3 separate regions of the Homo sapiens genome follow, and all the other regions are linked to region 3. The links are contacts of gene promoters, found by promoter capture Hi-C in human tissues and cell types (Jung and others, 2019). All regions are on one chromosome and are shown on one strand. The core of a region is centred on a gene start or on the middle of the fragment in contact, and the rest is flanking DNA. Distances in the headings are between cores, read along the strand shown.

Region 1 (2,788 bases), core at 146-2,645, 240 kb after region 3:
CACAGGTTGGAAGGCTGACGGACAGGGACAACAGAACATTTATGGGCAGCAGATTCCCAATTCCTCACCTGGGCTTCCCTGCTGTGGAGCAGCATGGCAGGGTGAAGTCAAAAGGAACAGGATGGACTCCCAGCTGATCAGCCACAAGCTGTGTGACTTGGGGATGTTGCTCTTAACTGCTGTGCTTCCCATTTTCCTGTCTGTGGCATAGTAACTATCTCATTGTGTGGTCAGAGAATTAAATGAGACCATGGATGTAAAGAGTACGGAGTGGTCCCAACACACAATAAATGCCCAATAAATGTTTATTATTGTTATTATTATTATTATTGGTTTGATTTTGACCTGGTGATAAGTCTCAGTGTGGAAGGGAAAGGCCATTCGGCCATGGCAAAAGTTTCACTGATGAAATTGATGGAAAAGAGGAGGAAAGAGAGTGAGGCGGGGGCTTCAGACATCTCCAAAGAGCTGTGTCTGCGACCTGAGCTGGAAAGAAAACCTGAATCCCACCTCCACCTGAAAATTCCCAAGGGCAACAACTCTCCCCAGAGACATCCTCAGGCCAAAGCTGGCTCTGTTGACCTCAGGGACACTCAGGCTGGGTTGGGCAAAAGGGGAAAGGAACAGCCACATGGAAGCCGAGACCTGATGCTGAAATCATGCCTTCTGGGGGCCCCAGAAGTGTTGAGGAGAGCGTCCCTTCCTCTGCCCTTCTCAAGCACCAGGCCTCTCCTCTTGAGTTCCCTGCAGCCTTTGTGGACTGATGGGCCCTGTAGAAAAGTGTCTATGCCTGGAGTCTGTCTACCTTCAAGACCCTCATGGGACAGTGGGTCACTGAGCCAGAGCTCAGGAGGGTTAAGGTCCGGCCTGTTGTAGGGAGGATTCTCCCACCCCAAAAGCCTTCCTCCTGGGAACTTCCTGACTCACCTAGGAGCCCACAGAGGGCACTTGGGTTGAGGATCTGCAAAAAAGCCTAGGAGCAGCCTTGGGGAAAGAGCCAGAGCATCTTTAAGCATATGGGACTTGCCCTCTAATCCCAGAGAAGCCAGGGTGTATAATTCATGGCACGCCTCCCCTCCTATGAAATGACGTAGTCCCAACTCTCCCTTTCCTTGAGGCTGAGCCACTGGATACATGGAACATATCTGTCTGGTTGGCCCCTTTCATCACCCCCACAATCAAGGAAGGAGGACAAATAGGATTTTTATAGGGCCCACCAGCACTGACCATTGGCCCCTTCTCTTTGCTCTTCGCTACCCTAATTATCCACCTTGCTACTTAGCTCTGCCAATATCCCAAGCTCATAAACCTAGTTTAATGGTGATTTGGGGTTTGACACATCTCAGTCCTCCATCCCCCTACCAGATAAAAGGGGGGAAGCTGAGCCTGACTTGATCATCCTGCCCCGGTTCTTTCCTCCAGGGCCGCATTTCTCTGCCTCTCTCTCCTGCCATGTCGTACCACTCTTTCCAGCCAGGCTCCAGGTGTGGCAGTCAGAGTTTCAGCTCATACTCGGCTGTCATGCCCCGGATGGTCACCCACTATGCAGTGAGCAAGGGGCCATGCCGGCCCGGGGGTGGTAGGGGCCTCCGAGCTCTGGGCTGCCTTGGCTCACGGAGCCTGTGCAACGTGGGCTTTGGGAGGCCCCGGGTAGCCTCCAGGTGTGGAGGTACCCTGCCTGGCTTCGGGTACCGACTGGGAGCCACCTGTGGGCCTTCTGCCTGCATCACCCCTGTCACCATCAATGAGAGCCTGCTGGTCCCACTGGCACTGGAGATAGACCCGACTGTGCAGAGGGTAAAGAGGGATGAGAAGGAGCAGATCAAGTGCCTCAACAACCGTTTCGCATCTTTCATCAACAAGGTAAGGGGGCAGTGGCCCAGGGCCGTGAGAGGACCCACTGCAGATCTGGGGTCTGGTCTTGTTCTGGTCCAAGGGAACCAGGAGGAGACTGACATTGAGGAGGCCTCAGTTTATCCAGTGGCCTCCCTCACATTCCACGACCACCAGCCTTTGAAAGCCAGTTAGATCAGATTCTGCACTAAACATTTCTGCTTCCTTGTCTTTCTTAAAATATATCATCTTTCTCTGAATATTATCTGACAAAATCACCAATCACCAAGGTTGCCTGAGGTCAGACTATAAGAGGAACTTCCAAAGCAATACTGAAAGGAATGACCAGAGAGGCAGAGAAATGCCCTTCCTGATGAGGCTTTAACAGTAGAACCGCCTTCTGTGTGCCTGAGCTGTGTCACAACTCTTGAGCCTGAAGGTGAGGATGGACACTGTGACCTCAGAGTTTCCAATCATTTTAGGCCTGGGATGAGAGGAAAGTGGACAGTCAGAGCTAGAGGCACAGGGTGACGGTCACAAAAGTCTTACATCTGTCATCTCCAGAGCCACTGAAAGGCTGCTAGGAAGGCATGCCTTCAGAAGGTGCTGAACTGAATCTGCACCCACTGCAGGAACAGTGCAGATTCCCACATCTACAGCACAGCACCCACTGCAGGAACAGTGCAGATTCCCACATCTACAGTATAGCACCCACTGCAGGAAGAGCGCAGATTCCCACATCTACAGTACAGCACCCACTGCAGGAAAAGATGTGGCATGCCTTCTGAAGGTGCTGAAGGACTCAACAGCCTCTGGGTCCATCCCACGCCCCAGGGAGGCTCTTGGGGTGAGGATTCATTCCACAGTTTGAGCTGGTGTTTCTGGTGACCGTAAGGTTTAGGGGCAAGAGTCCTGGGCCAGAGGTCAGGAGCCCTGGCCACTGGCATTGACTCTA
Region 2 (2,798 bases), core at 176-2,675, 130 kb before region 3:
GAGGTGGGTTGGATGGGGTTTGGGGTCTGCTGAGCTCTTGGCAGTGACAGCAGTAACTCATCATGTGTCATTCGTTCTGCCATCAGGGGTCCTCCATCCTCCTATTCCTGGCCCATATGGTGTAGCCATGGTCTAGACCAGGGTTTCCCAGACTTTCCGCATTATAAGAATGACCTGGAGGGCTTGTTAAAAATGCAAACTCTCAACCCTTTCCTCTGAAGATTTTCATTCATAGGGCTGGGGTGGGAGCTGGTTTTAGGTATTTGCATTCTTAGACATCAGTCATCAGTCAGTTAACACGTTTGTGCTGTGCTTACCCTATGCTAGGAGCTGGACATTTAGGATAATTTAGAATGGGCAGGACTCAAGCCTTGCCCTCAAGAAGCTCAGGGACCGGAGGGGTATGGACAAGTAAGCAGGTAAGTATACTTTATGTCAGGTTCACGATGGGAAAAGTACAGGGTATGGTGGGAAGACAAGGAGGGGCATCTGACCCAGACCAGGGGGTAAAGCAGGGAGGGGATCCCCTCCAGAAGATCTGAGTTGGGGCCTAGACACAAGATACACTGTCCTCCTAAGATGAATGGGGTGCTTGAGCCGACTCTACCAGCCAGCTGGAGGGTTACCAGATTCTGTCTCCTCTTGCTTCTGGGTCCAGAAATTGCCTGCTGTCAGTCTAGGATGGTGGGGGGAGGGCTTGGTCTGAGGCTCTCCACAGTGCATGCCCCCTCTTCTTCCCAAACCTCATACTTGTTTGCTCCCTGTTCCAGGAGCTAGACGTGTTTACCTCCACTGTAATTTCTTCCCCATAAGTAGCATTTCTCAGCCCAAACTCCAGGTTTGCTGAGATGGATGCCTTTGGCTGAGGTGCTGGCAGAGCAGACTCTATGGGTCTGGGCCCCTCTCACTTCCGCTCCCACTCCAGGCCCTCTGAAGAGTTGGGAACAGGTGACATGCCACTGGAAGAAAAGGCCTAATGATGGCAGAGACGGGCGCAGCCACTGTGGGAGCCTGTGGACACTGTGGTGCTGCAGGGAGGGACCCAGCCCACTCAGAAGAGGTTGCCTGGTCCTCACCCCCCTGTGTCAGGGAGCTCATGGCTCCGGATCACCTGGTGTCTAAAGCTGCTTCCTCCTGCTGGATCAGGTGCTGCTTGGGTTCCCTGAAACCCTTGAGGACAGCACAAAAAGGGAGGGAGGAGAGCTCCAGCATTTTGTCAACTGAGGCAAGTTTAGGTGATTAAGCTAAGAAAGCAAAGCCACTCTGGCCCAGAGGATTATCTCTGAGGTGTGTTGGGAACCAAGAAGTAACTTAATGCCTACGAGGCAAACCAAACCCAAGATGATTCTCAACTAATTGCTCGCCTCTCCTTTTGCCAAGCCAAACTCCCTGTTATATAAAGGCCAGTCTCCTCTCTTGTCCCTATCCCTCTCAGCTCTTGCTAAGTGATCACTAGCTTGCCTCCAAGCTCTCTCACTATGAACAGACAAGTTTGCAAGAAATCCTTCAGTGGCAGGAGCCAGGGTTTCTCTGGCCGCTCTGCTGTGGTCTCCGGCAGCAGCAGGATGAGCTGTGTGGCCCGCTCTGGGGGAGCTGGTGGAGGGGCCTGTGGCTTCAGGAGCGGAGCAGGCAGCTTTGGCAGTCGCAGCCTCTACAACCTGGGCAGCAACAAGAGCATCTCCATCAGCGTGGCAGCTGGCAGCTCCCGGGCTGGAGGCTTTGGGGGAGGGCGGAGCAGCTGTGGCTTTGCAGGTGGCTATGGAGGTGGCTTTGGGGGCAGCTATGGTGGTGGCTTTGGTGGTGGCAGAGGAGTAGGTAGTGGTTTTGGAGGGGCTGGTGGCTTTGGTGGAGCTGGTGGCTTTGGTGGTCCTGGTGTATTTGGTGGGCCTGGCAGCTTTGGTGGTCCTGGTGGCTTTGGCCCTGGGGGCTTTCCTGGGGGAATTCAGGAAGTGATTGTAAACCAGAGTCTCCTGCAGCCCCTCAATGTGGAGATCGACCCCCAGATTGGGCAAGTAAAGGCCCAGGAGCGGGAACAGATCAAGACCCTCAACAACAAGTTTGCCTCCTTCATCGACAAGGTGAGGGCAAGGCCAAGAGGTGCTGTGGAGGGTTTGGGGTGCCCAGGGGTCGGTGTAGAAAGATGCCATGGGGACTTGTGAGACACAGGGCAGGGGCGCTTGGCTCTTGTCCTGGTGCTGTCTTGGTCCCTACAGGACAGTGATCATGCCCCTTTCACTTTTTGGGCCTTCTTTTTCCAGCTGTGAAATGGGGGGAAGAATTCCTGGTCCTGGTTTCCTGCTAAGAATGAGATGAGGGTAAATGAAGTGGGGGTCCAAACATGCTCTTAGCTTTTTGAAGAATGAGCCATTTTAGTCATGAAATTATTGCAGTTACTTTAATTTCTCCTGAAAAGCAATTGCTTGATAATCCAAAGTAGCTGGTAATCAAAACCTTGTGTTAGCACAGATCTTGAGGCTGCATCTAAATGAGGTGCATTGGCAGCTGCCTTACCTTCCAGATGATGCTGTGCTTCAGCCAATAATTAAACTGAGCTGTCCATGCTGGGGCAGAGGAGGGTGTTCTGGGTCTGTGTGGGACTGAGCCCAGGATCTGAAGTGAATTCTAGTTCAGCTGCAAGCTGAATAACTGAAAGGAGGTCTTCCTATGTGAAACTTCTAAAGAAATGTTAGACCTCATTGACTGTATTCACTGCCTTTATGGAGCTGAAAAAAGCTTACATCTAAAAAACAATGACAAACTTTATTTGTGCTTACCTCCTTCAGTGGTATTCTGAAGGA
Region 3 (2,965 bases), core at 330-2,829:
GGACTGTGGAAACCCACAAAGAACATCGTATCCTGTTGTAGAAACACACAGTGTCTCAAGCAGGAGAGAGGGGCTGGTTGGCAAAGCTTGGTCATCTCGAGGCTCTGATGGTCCTGAGGGCTGTGAGCCATGGACGTAGGCATGAAGTCCCTGGCAGAGGTGTATGGTAAACTGCACGACAAAAGAAGTCCCATGGGGACAGGGATCAGGTTGGGGAGCCTGGGATTTTAGAGAGGAGCCAGCAGGGACTGAGTAGAGGGGAGTGGCAGAGAGAGGAAGAGGCCTGTACAGGGAACCATACACCAGAGGCCTCAACCTTTCTTGCAGGACGTGGACAATGCCTACATGATAAAGGTGGAGTTGCAGTCCAAGGTGGACCTGCTGAACCAGGAAATTGAGTTTCTGAAAGTTCTCTATGATGCGGTAAGGAGGCTGCTCCGGGACAGTCCCTTACTTCCCACCCTTCTCACCAAATGAAAGTCCTTTCTGCTTGGTGAAAAAGTGGCAGAAGTGGGGTTTATGGACCAGCTGACTTCAATCTGCCATCATTCCAGGCCACTGGGGGGGCTTTCATAGCATAGGTCTTGTGGGTGAGGAATTTTCTCCTCCGATGTTATGGGAATAAGGTTCAGGAAACACCAGGACAGCTTCCCCTCCCTCCATTCCCCAGATGTCCATTTCCCCTGGGGAAGAGACAAGCCCTGTGCCCATTCCTGTGCCTACTGTACTTCAGAGGTCAAAATGCATTTGTCTCCTATCCCCCTCCCCAACCCAAGGGTGCACAGATGATTTCTGAAACAGGAAGTCCATTTAAGGTATTTGCCATGGACAAGCTTCTGTCTGGGGGCACTTACCATAACTGGCTTAAGTGCTGAATGTTAACTAGGAGGCTCAGAAATACAGGTGCCTCTCACTACAATTCTCAGGACAACCTTGGGAGAGGCCCAGGAGTAGACGGTTACATGATTTTCATCCCACCTAGTGTATGCTTAGTCTGAGGGTCTGCGTTTCCCTTATGCTGGGAGACAGAGGCCTCCTGTCTGCCTGTAGCTATGGCAGGATGTCATGACCAGACCTTCCTGTGTGTTGTAGGAGATATCCCAGATACATCAGAGTGTCACTGACACCAACGTCATCCTCTCCATGGACAACAGCCGCAACCTGGACTTGGATAGCATCATCGCCGAGGTCAAGGCCCAGTATGAGGAGATCGCCCAGAGGAGCAAGGAAGAAGCGGAGGCCCTGTACCACAGCAAGGCAAGTAGAGGGAATGTAGGAAGAGCCACAGCTCCCTGCCATGAGCTGGGTTGCACCCCCAGCTGGAAAGTGTACAGTAAGGTTATTGGTTTTTTGTTTAATGGTAGTTGGGCACCATTCCCAAGAAAGGATGTTGAGAATGGCACCAAGTCCTTTTGGGCATGTGAGACAGTCCCTACCTCTCATGAATGCAGCCATGACATTTAGCTGGGTTGACCCTCCCTGGACCAGTAACCAGCTCTCCTTCACTCCAGTCAGTCTGGAATGTGAGCCAGGCTGGAACTTCCTTGCAAACTGTCCTCTTCTCCCCATATCAGTATGAGGAGCTCCAGGTGACTGTCGGGAGACATGGAGACAGCCTGAAAGAGATCAAGATAGAGATCAGCGAGCTGAACCGCGTGATCCAGAGGCTGCAGGGGGAGATCGCACATGTGAAGAAGCAGGTGAGGCCCAGCCCTGTCCAGCGAGGGGCGGGAGGTTGTCTCTGGGTGTGCGTGAGAGTGTGGTTGTGTGTGAGTGTGCATGTGAGAGATGAGAGACACTGAGATATTGCACTCTAGCATGTATCGATCCCAAATTCCCCAGCTTAACATAATTTATGGCTTATTATAACAATTCTTAGAGTGCTCTAATAGACATTCCAAAGTAAGGATTATCGAAGGGAAAGAATTGTGCTCACTTGTTTATATGAGGAAAAGGGAGTCATAACAAATAGAGCAAACGTTAGTTTGATTGATTTGCTGCAGATTGCCGATGGAGCTTCCCGTTTGTGCTCAGCACAGGCCCTGAGCACCAGCCGACTGGTTTCATAGAGGGGCAGTGAGTATTGAGGGCAGCTGGCCTGGGGCTGGACGTTAGCTTTGGAATAGAAAAGGTAGAGGCAGAGAGTGGATTCCATCAGCAGCAGAAGCTTTGCCAAGCAGACCATTTCAAATGTTTTCATTTCCATCTGTAAAATGGGATCATGATTCAGGCCCTGTGATGTGAGGATCAAAGGGCACTATGGGGAAAGCCAAAGGGTGTCATCAACGGTGACATGGGAAGAAGATGTGCCAGAGACAGCGGCAAGTCTTAGCACAGTTGTTTGCGACTAAACTCCAGAGGGGACCTAACACTCCCAGGGCCAGTGGTTCTGGCTTCCTGCACTTCGAACACCTCTGCTCTCTGTCCGCCTCCGTCAGGCAGAATCCATTCTCTGTCCTTCTGTCATAGTGTAAGAATGTGCAAGATGCCATCGCAGATGCCGAGCAGCGTGGGGAGCATGCCCTCAAGGATGCCAGGAACAAGTTGAATGACCTGGAGGAGGCCCTGCAGCAGGCCAAGGAGGACTTGGCGCGGCTGCTGCGTGACTACCAGGAGCTGATGAACGTGAAGCTGGCCCTAGATGTGGAGATCGCCACCTACCGCAAACTGCTGGAGGGCGAGGAGTGCAGGTGAGGGCACTGGGAAGGGAGAAGGGGACCCTGGCCCTTCCTCTCATCTCTCCCAGAGCCAGGGCTGGAGGCAAAGACAGGGAAAGCAGAGAATGGGGCAGGCCCTCCTGACAACTGAGAACTGACATTCTCTGTGTTCCCCAAGCAGAAACTCAGGACATAAAGCATGATTGGAGAGTTACACATTTATCAACATGAAATGATGCATAAGGCACATTAAATTAAACTAAGCAGTAAGTTAAACATCCTGGTCTTTTCTGAAAGAGAAAACAAAA

The links. Contacts are between HindIII fragments. The study calls those that stand out against the background at their distance.
Region 1: a contact is called between the fragment with the promoter of KRT82 here and a fragment that was not itself captured in region 3, in 2 of the 25 tissues and cell types used here (mesendoderm cells and thymus).
Region 2: the fragment with the promoter of KRT76 here is called in contact with a fragment that was not itself captured in region 3 in 2 of the 25 tissues and cell types used here (bladder and lymphoblastoid cells).

The regions. Positions count from the first base shown.
Region 1 is chr12:52,404,942-52,407,729 of GRCh38, reverse strand. KRT82 (keratin 82) reads left to right here and starts at 1,395. Exons shown (of 9, transcript NM_033033.4): 1 at 1,395-1,863. The coding sequence starts at 1,453. The HindIII fragment of the contact is 10,212 bases long and covers 1-2,788 here.
Region 2 is chr12:52,775,972-52,778,769 of GRCh38, reverse strand. It overlaps KRT76 (keratin 76), which reads left to right and starts at 1,425. Exons shown (of 9, transcript NM_015848.4): 1 at 1,425-2,078. The coding sequence starts at 1,479. The HindIII fragment of the contact is 5,333 bases long and covers 1-2,798 here.
Region 3 is chr12:52,646,465-52,649,429 of GRCh38, reverse strand. KRT2 (keratin 2) reads left to right here. Exons shown (of 9, transcript NM_000423.3): 4 at 328-423; 5 at 1,093-1,257; 6 at 1,575-1,700; 7 at 2,470-2,690. Among named protein-coding and RNA genes, the nearest start is that of KRT2, 4.3 kb to the left of the region's middle. The HindIII fragment of the contact is 3,386 bases long and covers 1-2,965 here.